3 separate regions of the Homo sapiens genome follow, and regions 1 and 3 are each linked to region 2. Evidence: promoter capture Hi-C in 16 types of primary human blood cells and fetal thymus (Javierre and others, 2016). All regions are on one chromosome and are shown on one strand. Each heading gives the region's core, a stretch centred on a gene start or on the middle of the fragment in contact. The rest is flanking DNA. Distances are from core to core; before and after follow the strand shown. Region 1 holds the start of ACSM3 (acyl-CoA synthetase medium chain family member 3). Region 2 holds the start of USP31 (ubiquitin specific peptidase 31). Region 3 holds the start of DCUN1D3 (defective in cullin neddylation 1 domain containing 3).

Evidence for each region. The method cuts DNA at HindIII sites, captures the fragments that hold promoters and counts their contacts. A CHiCAGO score of 5 or more calls a contact.
Region 1: a contact is called between the fragment with the promoter of ACSM3 here and the fragment with the promoter of USP31 in region 2, in 1 of 17 cell types (activated CD4 T cells). The highest score is 5.0, in activated CD4 T cells.
Region 3: a contact is called between the fragment with the promoter of DCUN1D3 here and the fragment with the promoter of USP31 in region 2, in 6 of 17 cell types (non-activated CD4 T cells, activated CD4 T cells, total CD8 T cells and 3 more). The highest score is 13.3, in non-activated CD4 T cells.

Annotation. Positions count from the first base shown.
Region 1 is chr16:20,762,662-20,766,002 of GRCh38, forward strand. ACSM3 (acyl-CoA synthetase medium chain family member 3) reads left to right here and starts at 1,353. Exons shown (of 14, transcript NM_005622.4): 1 at 1,353-1,464. RefSeq lists an enhancer at 1,490-1,619. The HindIII fragment of the contact is 1,761 bases long and covers 1,194-2,954 here.
Region 2 is chr16:23,147,536-23,151,292 of GRCh38, forward strand. It overlaps USP31 (ubiquitin specific peptidase 31), which reads right to left and starts at 1,917. Exons shown (of 16, transcript NM_020718.4): 1 at 1,103-1,917. The coding sequence starts at 1,735. RefSeq lists silencers at 1,058-1,287, 1,418-1,517, 1,618-1,667, 1,818-1,917 and an enhancer at 2,098-2,317. The HindIII fragment of the contact is 4,661 bases long and covers 1-3,757 here.
Region 3 is chr16:20,899,036-20,902,378 of GRCh38, forward strand. DCUN1D3 (defective in cullin neddylation 1 domain containing 3) reads right to left here and starts at 1,323. Exons shown (of 3, transcript NM_173475.4): 1 at 1,169-1,323. LYRM1 (LYR motif containing 1) reads left to right here and starts at 1,736. Exons shown (of 4, transcript NM_001128302.3): 1 at 1,736-1,854. RefSeq lists enhancers at 883-932, 1,142-1,927, 1,928-2,713. The HindIII fragment of the contact is 5,697 bases long and covers 412-3,343 here.

The sequences.
Region 1 (3,341 bases), core at 103-2,602, 2.4 Mb before region 2:
AAACACCACATGCTTATAGTAACTGATGCAGAAAAAACACTTGCCAAAATTCAACACCTATTCATGATAAAAACACTCAGAAAAAAATAGAAATAGAGGAGAATTTCCTCAACTTGATAAAGGGCATCTACACAAAACCTACTACTAATATTGTACCTAACCATGAAAGACTGAATGTTTTCCCTCTAAGATCAAAAGCAAGGCAAGGATGTCTGCTCTCATCACTCTTATTCAACGTAGAGCTAGACACTCTAGCCTGCGCAATAAGGCAAGAAAAGGAAATAAAACGCATATAGATCTGAAAGAAAGAAGTAAGATCTGTTTACTTATTTACAGGTAATGTGATTACACAGAAAATCCCAAGGAATCAACAACAAAAGACTCCTAGAACTCAAAAGTGACCAACAAATTCCTCTTTAAGTAAAGTTGGGTCTCTCACATGTAATTGAAAGAGTCCTTTATTTATTCACATATCCATCAACTATTTATTGAATGCCTAAAATTTGCCAGTAGCTATTCCAGGCAATAGATACACCATCAAACAAAAAGAGTTCTTACCCTCAAGGGTGATAGTAAGAGATGTAAAAAGTTAAAAAATGGTAAAAGAGAAAAAATGAAGAGTGCTACTTTAGAAAATGAGGTAAGGGAAGAGTTATTTAATAAGACACCTCAGAAAATGAGGAATTTGGCCAGGGGGATATCTGAGGAAAGAGTTCCAGTCAGTGGAAACTGTGAATTCAGAAAGCCTGAGGCTGAAACAGGCAAGTGTGTTTGAGAAAAAGCAAGGAGGCCGGTGGCTGTGCAGAGTGAGGCAGAGGAAGGAGAATGGGCTGTGGATCAGAGGACCCTGTGCCAGATCATACAACTCCTTGCAGTTCATGTAAGGACTCGGATTTTACCTGGAGTGGAAAAAGAAGCACTGAAAGATTTGAGCAGGGGAGTAACCTGATAGCGTTTATGTTTAGTCCTGCCACTTCGACAGATAAACGCACCAATGGGCTTGATGAGATTTAGGCCAACCCATAACCGCCCCTCAACTTCTTTCCTTTCAATTTCAAAACTCCTCTATGGCTTCCTCCATCTGTTCTTCCTTCTGAGAAGTGCTCTCTCTGCCCCTTTACAGAACTAACCACTTCGGCAACTCCTTGGACACTTTCCTTCTTGTTAATAATTTGCTTTCTCCGCCCCTCAAAAGCTTGCTGTTTCTGTAAATCATTACCTGTAAGAGGAACCGCTGGGAGTCCTGTAAACTTTAGCCCAGAGCTTGGCTCCTCCTCCAGAATGTCTCCACCAATCAAGGAAAGTGTTTTGGGCCAGTCTTGCTCCTCCGGATTGTCAGACTGCTCCTCCCTCTTCTTTAGACTGCCACGAGGAAAAAGCAGATGTGAGAACTCAAGGTTCAGGGCTGCTCTTCTAAGAAACAAGTCTGCCATAATCTCCATCTGTGTTGGAATCTGTTAACTAGTGAGTACCTCATCTCCCCTCCTGTGTAAGATTTCCTGAACTGGCACATCTGTTTTTTGAGCAAAGATAACAAACAGATGAACAAAACCAACAATCAAAAATGCTGTCATTAAAGTCTTGGGCAGCCAAAGTTTCTCTCAGAATTTCTCAGTTGTGTGATACTATCTATTAAGTGATGAGGAGTATGCACACACAAAAGGCTATAAATGTAGCAGCTGAGTTTTCATGTTGAGCCTTTTGGTGCTATTTGATTTTTTGAAAAACTATGTACATGTATTAAGTTGATAAATTTTTTTTTTAATTTTAATTGAACCAGATGCGGTGGCTCAAGCCTGTAATCCCACCACTTTAGGAGGCTATGGTGGGCAGATGCAGATCACTTGAGGCCAGGAGTTCGAGACCAGCTTGGCCAACATGGTGAAACCCTATCTCTACTGAAAATAAAAAATTAGCCAGGTGTGGTGGCAGGTGCCTGTAACCCCAGCTACTTGGGAGCCTGAGGCAGTAGAGTCACTTGAACCTGGGAGGTGGAGTTTGCAGTAAGCTGAGATTGCATCACTGCACTCCAGCCTGGGTGACAGAACAAGACTCCATCTCAAAAAAAAGACCAGGTAGTGGCTGAGATTTTCATTGTACTGTCTGCTTAGCTCCCCACCTTGCTCAGTGACAGATGGGAATCCATCTTCTGCATCATCCAGAAAGTATGTAAATTACTTCCAGGAAACTTTGGGAAACACAGATGCAAACCTAAGAGCAGCCAGTTTTCTCCTTTAGGTGGTCAAGGGCAGCTGCAAAAGTTCTGTATAGGAGGGGCTTCAGGCAGGGTCTGGTTGGGTTTGGAGACAACAGCAGTGAATTTACCTTGCGTTGAGGCTGTATATGTTAAACTACTGTTATTACTTGGATACTTAGAGGGAGGGATGTTTAGGGAGCTGTGGGGAGGCTAAAGCCCCCTTGGCTGTAGGGACAAAGAGCTTGCATTTCAGATGAGACCTTAAATACTTTCAGAAGCCTATCTGACCAGGGGTGGTACTGTCTTTCTTAGAAGAGTTTTCCTTACCAATGTTTCTGTGGCTCAGTATAAAAATCTGGAGTCACCCTGGGAAAGTTATCTCAGCAATTTTACCTACAAATAATTTTATAAACCTGGGAAATAGAAGTTGTAAAATGCTAAGATCGATGAAAAGGGAGGAAAAGAACTTTGTTGAGGAGAAGGTAATCTTATGGTTTTGATGAAGAGGATGTCGATATTTGCTTTTTGGTAGAACAGAATGGTTAGGTTCATTTTAAGCTCCAAATGACTGATCAATTTTCTTTTCAACATACGTTTGAAGGATTCTGAATGTGGTGTAGAGTATTGTATGGGAGCTAGGGAACAAATCATACTAAACTCTGATTCTATTCAGAATCAGCAAGCTAAGTATGATATATTTATCTCCAATCATATTAATATTTACATAATTATTTAATGTCTTCCTTAATAGTCTATAAGCTTCATGGGAGCAAGACCAGCCGTGTCTTGTTCACAGCTATATTTTCAGCATTTAGTACAGGTCTGGCATATACCAAGTGTTCAATAAATACACGGGTAATGAATAAATGCGTTGTCCAATTTAAATATGTGTGTCTGTTTGTGTATACTTCCTTGTCTGTAAAATGAAAATACTAATAAATAACTGCAAAATGCTTAACAGTACAACCACTTGCCAGATCTCAGCAAAAATGTTACGTCCCTAGAGAGACCTCCTAAAAGGTCCCTTTTCTCCCATTACTCTCTTTGTTTTCTTGCGTAACATCACATTTATTTATTCCCTTGTTTACTATATGTGTCTTTCTATGAGAGCAAGGAGGACCTTGTCTCTTGCATTCCCTCCTGT
Region 2 (3,757 bases), core at 667-3,166:
ACCATCCGGTCCCAGCCCACCACTCGGCTCTCAAATCTCACCCTCTCACTACACTTGCAGCCCCACCAGCAAACAGCAAAGGAGGGCTTGGCCAAGGGCCATACATACCCCCAGGGATGTATAGCTCACCCCTGTAATCCCAGCACTTTGGGAGGCCAAAGCGGGGAGAGTGGCTTGAGGACAAGAGTTCAAGACCAGTCTGGGCAACACAGCAAAACCCCCGTCTCTACAAAAGTGTTTTAAAAATAAAAAATAGGTAGGTATGGTGGTGTGTGTCTGTAGTCCCAGCTATTAAATACTCTGGAAGGTGAGGCGGGAGGATTGCTTGAGCCCAGGAGTTTGAGGCTATGTGAGCACTGCACTCCAGCCTGGGCAACAGAGCAAGACCCTGTCTCTAAAAATAAAATAAAAATAAAAAGTAGCCTGTCAGCACATCAATCACAGCAGCAGGTTTTTCTTTCTTCAAACCACTATCTGATATTATCTCGTTAACTTCTTCAAGTCTTTAATAACAAAAATAATAGCAGCAAATACACATGATATGGAAGTATTTTACTTATCAGGTTGAACCCTATAAAAGTGCCAATCTGTAAATAAAAAACGGTTAAATATGGGTAATTCCACAGTGTTCGATTTAATATATTAACTTGTTTGCAGCTCACAACCACCTTACAAAGTAGGTCCCCCAGATGAAGAAACTGTAAGAACAGAGAGGCTGCTTAACTTACCCGACGTCACATTGCTAGTAAGTGGCAGAACCAGGATTTGAACCCATGCTCAACACTCCCACCCCACAAAAATGCAAGTTCCATGAAGGCGGATAGTCTTGTTCATTGCAACGTCACTCCCATTGCCTATTATCACAGAGTATGGGCACGTATGTAGTAAGTTCTCAATAAATACATGTTTGAGTGAGTGAGTGAGTGAATAAATGAATGAATGAATGAATCTCCTTAAAATCACTGGTCGACTGCCCAGACCACTCGGAGCAACCAATGCAGAAGCCTGCCGGGCCAAGAGGAACCGAGGGAAGGAAGACCTGGGCGGGCAGGTGCCCCAGGGGCTCGGGGTGCAGTGGGGGCGCGGCGGCGCGCGGGCTCACCTTGAAGTCGCGGCTGTGCTGCGGGGTGTACTCCAGGGTCCAGAGGGCCCGCACCAGGTGCGCCAGCTGCTCAGTGACCTCGCCCTGGCCCTGCGCGCCGCGGCCCGCAGGCTGCTCCGGGTCAGGCGAGGGCTCGGGCCGCCCCGCCCGGTACTGGCCCAGCGCCAGGTACTCGGCGAAGAGCTCGGTGTTGCTGAGGCACTGCAGCGTGGCGTTCATGAAGCACGTGTTGCCGTGGTTGCGGAGCCCCGCCACGCCGGGCACCGGCTCGGCGGCGCAAGCGGGCGGCGCGGGAGAGGCGGGCGGCGGCGGGCACGGCGGCGGCGTGGGCGCGGCGGCCGGCCCGGGCGGGAAGCAGCTGCGGAGGCCGCCGCGGTCTGGGGCGGCGCCCTCAGAGCTAAGGTGCGAGAGCGTGGACAGCGTCTTGAGAACGCGGCTCATGAAGCTGCCCACCGAGCGTGCAGAGGAGGGCGAGGAGGGCGAGGAAGGCGCGGCCGGCCCGGACGCCCCGGGGCCCCCCGCGCCGCCGCCGCCAGCGCGGCCGCTCCGAAACAGCCGCTTGCTGAAGGAGCGCTTCTCCTTCCCGCTCGCCGCCGCCGGCGGCCCGGACCCAGGCGCCGTTACCTTGGACATGGCGGCGGCCGCAGACACTCATCACCGCGCCCGCCCGCCCGGCCCGCGGCCCCGCCACGGCCGCCGCCGCATCCCGCAGCGCCGCGCCTCACCGGGCCCGGGGGCTCGACGCCCCACACACCTCAAAGCGCAGCCGAGCCAGCGAGCGAGCGGCGGCCGGCGGGGCCAGCGGGCGCGCGCGCGGTCCGCCCAGCTGAGCCGCTCACGTGACGTGCCTCCCGGCGCCGCCCGCCCGGCGCTGAAGCCGCCTCGGCCGCCATGTTCACTGTGGGACGGTAGCTGCCTCTCCAGCCGGACGCGATGCCTGGAGGCTGCGGGCGCGGTCCTGCTGCGTGAAGCCCGAGGGAGGCCATGTCTAGTGTGGGCGCCGTCCCGGCTTGGAGGAAAAGGCTGGGCTCCCGTTGGATGGTGGATCCCCGGGGTGGGTCTCTGTCTTTGCTGGTCAGATGGCAGAGGCGGGAACGTGCAGGAATCAGGATGCTGTCAGTTACCAGACCGTGCAAGAGCTGGTGGACATGGCCCTGACAGGTCCTGGGCAAGTCAGCCCTGTCTGGCTCCCAAGGGACGTTGCAGATACCTACCCTCTGGGTGCCAGCGGAGCGCAGTCACAGACCCTGGCACGTCCCAGCGGGCTTTTCTTCCTGGCTGCACCTTGGAGTCCCAGCGAAACGCTGTTATCATAACTACTTTCCTTTTCATTCCAGCCTTTAAAACTCCTCCGGGCTCTCCCATCATTCATCATTCCATTCATTCATTCACTCACTCATTCATTCAGCAGTTACTGGGGATATTGCAAAGAATTAAACCTATTAAATTAGAATCAAATGTCATATCCCCAGCGGATTAAATTAGCACGGTTTCTACCTGCCCTCTTGCAGCTTACATTCCTACTGGGTGTTTACAATAGCTGTTGTGTTCCACACATTATGCCAAGCATGCAATATTTTCTTTAATCTTTAATTCACCGTCTTTGAGATTGGTACAGTTCTTATCTGATTCAAACCCAAGTTTTATTTACAACCCCTATACTTGACCTCTAAACCAAAGGTCACGAATCCACAAATATCACAGGTCACAAACCCACAAATGAGTGAAGAATCCTGGTGTTTGAATCATCATATTGACTTTCAAGTGACTTGGGTCTCAGTGTTGGGGGAAATATAAGGAATGATGGGGACTATAGCAGACTTCAAATTAACATCTTTCTAAAGAGGTGGCTGCCACTCAGCTCCAGCCAGTTGTTCCCATGTGAGAACAGGAGCTCAGCGTTACCAGATCATCTGATGTTTTAAGAGAAGGCAGAAATCCTATTTTTAAACGTTGGTTCCATTAAAAAAAAAATAGTGCAGGGAGCAAAAAATAGTACATCTTTGGGATGCCTTTAGTCCAAAATCAACTAGTATATGACCTCCTCTCTATAGGCTCCCCTCTGCTAAAAGGGCTAGTCTGAGTCCTGAGGCAGAAGAGAGAAATCAGAGAAGGGAGAGCCCTTCCTCCTTTTTAAAACATGAAGGCCACCTTACACCACGTTTCAAAGTAAATGGTTTTTACCTTTGACCTCCCTCCCCAATGTAAGTAGGGCTCTATGATGACATCTCCAGGGTGCTCTGCACTGTCCCTAATCGGCTCCACTCTCCTCTTAGTCAAAATTCTTATCTGGACACCAGGAAGAAAGCCATCTGATTATTCACACTAAAATGTGAATGCAATGGCCCTCAACTTCTGGGCAGTTTGATCTAGACTCGAGGGCCTTTGCTGGAGCCGTTCCCTCTCCCTTGAACCTTTCCTTAGCTAACTTAGAACCTTTCTACTTAGCTAACTTCCCCTCATCCTTAAAGTCCCACCTTAGATATCACCCCCTCCAGGAGATGTCCCTTCCACAGGCCCTCTTGGCACCTCTCATTCATGACACTGACTTGACCATATTGCAATTCAGTTTACAATCATCACCTTCACTAATATGTGGGCTTCAACCCAGTAGAGACCCATCTTACTCATTATTCGGTACCCAGTAAGGTAGCC
Region 3 (3,343 bases), core at 73-2,572, 2.2 Mb before region 2:
TACACAAAGAATCAGCTACGTAAAGATGAAAATCAGCACAAGCTGAACGTGTCACTGATGATTTGTGTGTCACACATAAATGGAGAAAAACATAAAAGAGCTATTGTCCAATTGTAGAAACAAAAAAGTAATATGGGGTTTTCTGTTCTCTGAAGTGCATCATGAAAAGTGGGTGGAGAGAAACACAGAAATCCAGAATTAGCCTAGCAAATCATTTTGGGAAGAGCTGACAACATGTAAATTCCTCACACATAAAGTATTTCGAGCAAGAGACCTTGATTCCTGGGCTATGATGCCATTCAGGATTCCTTGCAAAGGCTCTGGAATTCCAGTATTCATAAAAGAAAATGCTCATTATAATCGGAGCGTAAGAGGTACTCCCAACGTGACAGCCTGTATGAAGTATTACAAAGCTTACAGTTAAGATCTGGGATAGAGGCTGAACACCAAATTCAAAAGAGGTAACCAAGGCACTAAGTGCCATAAAGGAGGAAAGGGGAAGAAAAAAAAATCCACTATTGCCACTCAGCCACAGAGAATTAAAGTGGAAACCAGGGGTGTGCATGGGGGAGGATGAGGGGTGAGAAGTGCGGGGGGTGTGGTGGAGGAACAAACAATACATTTGTCACCCCGTCCCACTTCCTATAGAGGATACAGGCAAAGCCTCCAGCCTCATTACCTCGGACACAGATGGTTATCGTTTATAGCAAAGGTGCACAAAAAGGCCTTCAGGTCTGAGCCCCTTAATTCCAGGGCTGTTAATGATTAAAGAGAACGATGGGGGTGGGGAGGGAAATGAGGGCGGAGGGAGCTGGGAGATTCACCCACCACCTCCCCCTAGGGCTCCTACCTCACAGCGCTCACCCAGGACAGAGGACCAGAGTCTGCACCCCCTCCAGGGCAGCTCCAACCCCATATCCCCAGGCCCTGGGTTGAGGGGTGCTGGCGGTGGGGAGGCAGGGACAGTAGGTAAGTTTTCTGAGCCCTGCGGCTGACACGCCACAGGCTCCCCTCACAGCCTCTTCTTTCAGAGGTACCACTCCAGACAACGCGCTGACTTCCACTCCTCCCTTTCCACCCCCCTTTCTCGAAGGTACCCAACCCCCGCCCCTTCATCTCTCAATGCCCCCCCGCCTTTTCCTCAACTCCCCCCCTCCCCAAAACTCACAGCTGCTCCAGAGGTTCCTCCAGTCAAACCCTTTCTGGAAACGACGGCGGCCCGGCGGGTCCAAACCACCTACCATCCCCGCTCGCGTTTCCAGGCTCCCTACCCCCGCCGCCGCCGCCTCTTCTTCCACCACTGCCACCGCCTCCTCTTCATCTGCGGCCCACCGGCGGCGGCCGCCCCGAAGCCCCGCCCCCTCCATCGCCTCCTGCATCATCACTTCCGGTAACCCCGCCGGCCGCCAGCTCCAGGAGGGAGAATGGGAGAGGGGCAAGGAGGGAACGAGTGGAAGATTGCGTCACGACGCACATAAAGACGTACGAAGCCGTCGCCAAGTAAGGGCAAAGACCTAGCAACCCGGAGGGAGCTGGGCTGGACCATTTTTTTTTCTTGTTTTACGGGAATGGAGCGGGGAGGATAATGAAAGCGTAAAGGAAAAATAGGGGGAGGAGGAGCTCAGCTTATTGTTGGATGCGGCGGGAGATGGGTAGAGTCAGTCAGTCGAGACTCCCCCAGACCTGGAACTGGTGCTCCCACAGAGGTGGGCCCGGTGGTTTGGTCCGGCCTGGCCTACTGGACCAGCCTGTGCTCGGTCGGCCACGGCTCTGCTGGGCTCCTGGCGCCGCCTCCTCCCAGCCCGCCGCGGGCTGCGCGCTTCTGTGGGTGGGGGAAGGCAGGACTGACGCAGAGTGAGTGTAGGGGATGGAGGCGCCGACTCCAGGCGCGGGAGACTGGCGGGGAAGGGGTTGGCTCCCCACGGGCAGGGATGGTTTGGAGGTTGGGCTGCGGCGTTGCCGGGAGACGGGCCTGTGTGACCCCAGCTTCGCGGGGGCGGCTCGGTGTCATCGCCACCGGCCTCGGGGACCTGCCTCACGGAAGTGGCTCGCGCGTCCAAGAGGGGAGGCCTGGTGTGGGGACGCTCAGGTGCCGGCGTGGGGCCCCCTCGGAGGCTGTGAATCTTTTGGACCCCCGAATGTAAATGGGAGATGGTAGGGGCCGGTCCGGGGGCGAGAGGTGTCTGGCTGGGGAACGTTGACCCACACCAGGTCCCGTACAGGAACGGAGACTCCCTAGGACCGTGAGAGCCAGCTTCGTAATTCTCTTGCTCTTCAAACCTGAGAGTAGGGTGTTGCTCCGTTACCTTCCATTCGTGTGCAGGAGAGAGTTAAGTAAATCAATAAAGAAGGTATCAGCAAGTGAGAAATGCCCCCCAAAGACCGGATGAGGTGACAGAAGATGGGGGGAGGGCCCCTCGAAATCGGGTAAGGTCGTTCAAAGGAGGCCACGGTTTTGCGGGGATCCGAGACAATGGGTTTTCTGGGTGGAGAGAAGAGCCAATGAGAAGGACTTTTAGGTTGGAAACAGCCAGAAGGCCATGTGGCTGAAGCAAACAGAGCCAGGGCCGGAGTGCCCTGTGATGTAGTTGGGGAAGTGGCATGACTGTAGCAGCGCCTTTTAGCCCAAGGCAGGGGTTTGGCTAATGTGTACCTTAAGGGTTTTAAGAAGGGAAGTGACCTGACCTGATTTACATTTTTAAAAATCCGCTCTGCCTGCTGGATAGAGAAGGGTGGAAGTAGTTAGACCTGTTAGGAGACTGTTGCACTGTAAGACAAAGGAGAGGTGAAGATAGTGTTGAAAGGGCCGGCCGGGCGCGGTGGCTCACGCCTATAAACCCAGTACTTTGGGAGGCCTAGGCGGGCGGATCACGAGGTCAGGAGATCGAGATCATCCTGGCCAACATGGTGAAACCCCATCTCTACTAAAAATACAAAAATCAGCTGGGCGTAGTGGCACGCGCCTGTAATCTCTGCTACTCAGGAGAATCGCTTGAACCCGGGAGGTGGAGGTTGCAGTGAGCCAAGATCGCGCCACTTCACTCCAGCCTGGGCAACGGAGTGAGACTCCGTCTTAAGAAAAAAGAAAAGGCCCTCAGTCACAGTGGAAATGGAGAGAATTCCATTCAGCATATATTTGGGAGGTAGTGCTTGCAGGACTTGCTGGGGAATTGGATGTGAAGTGTGTAGGAGAGGGAGGAACCAAGGTTAACTCCCTACGGGAAAACAGTTTAGAAAGGAATATCGAAAGTTCTCTTTTGAACATATTAAGTTTGATAAGTCTATTAACAAGTCAAATGAAGTTGTCAAGAAGTTAGATATACAAGTCGGGGAAAAATCATAG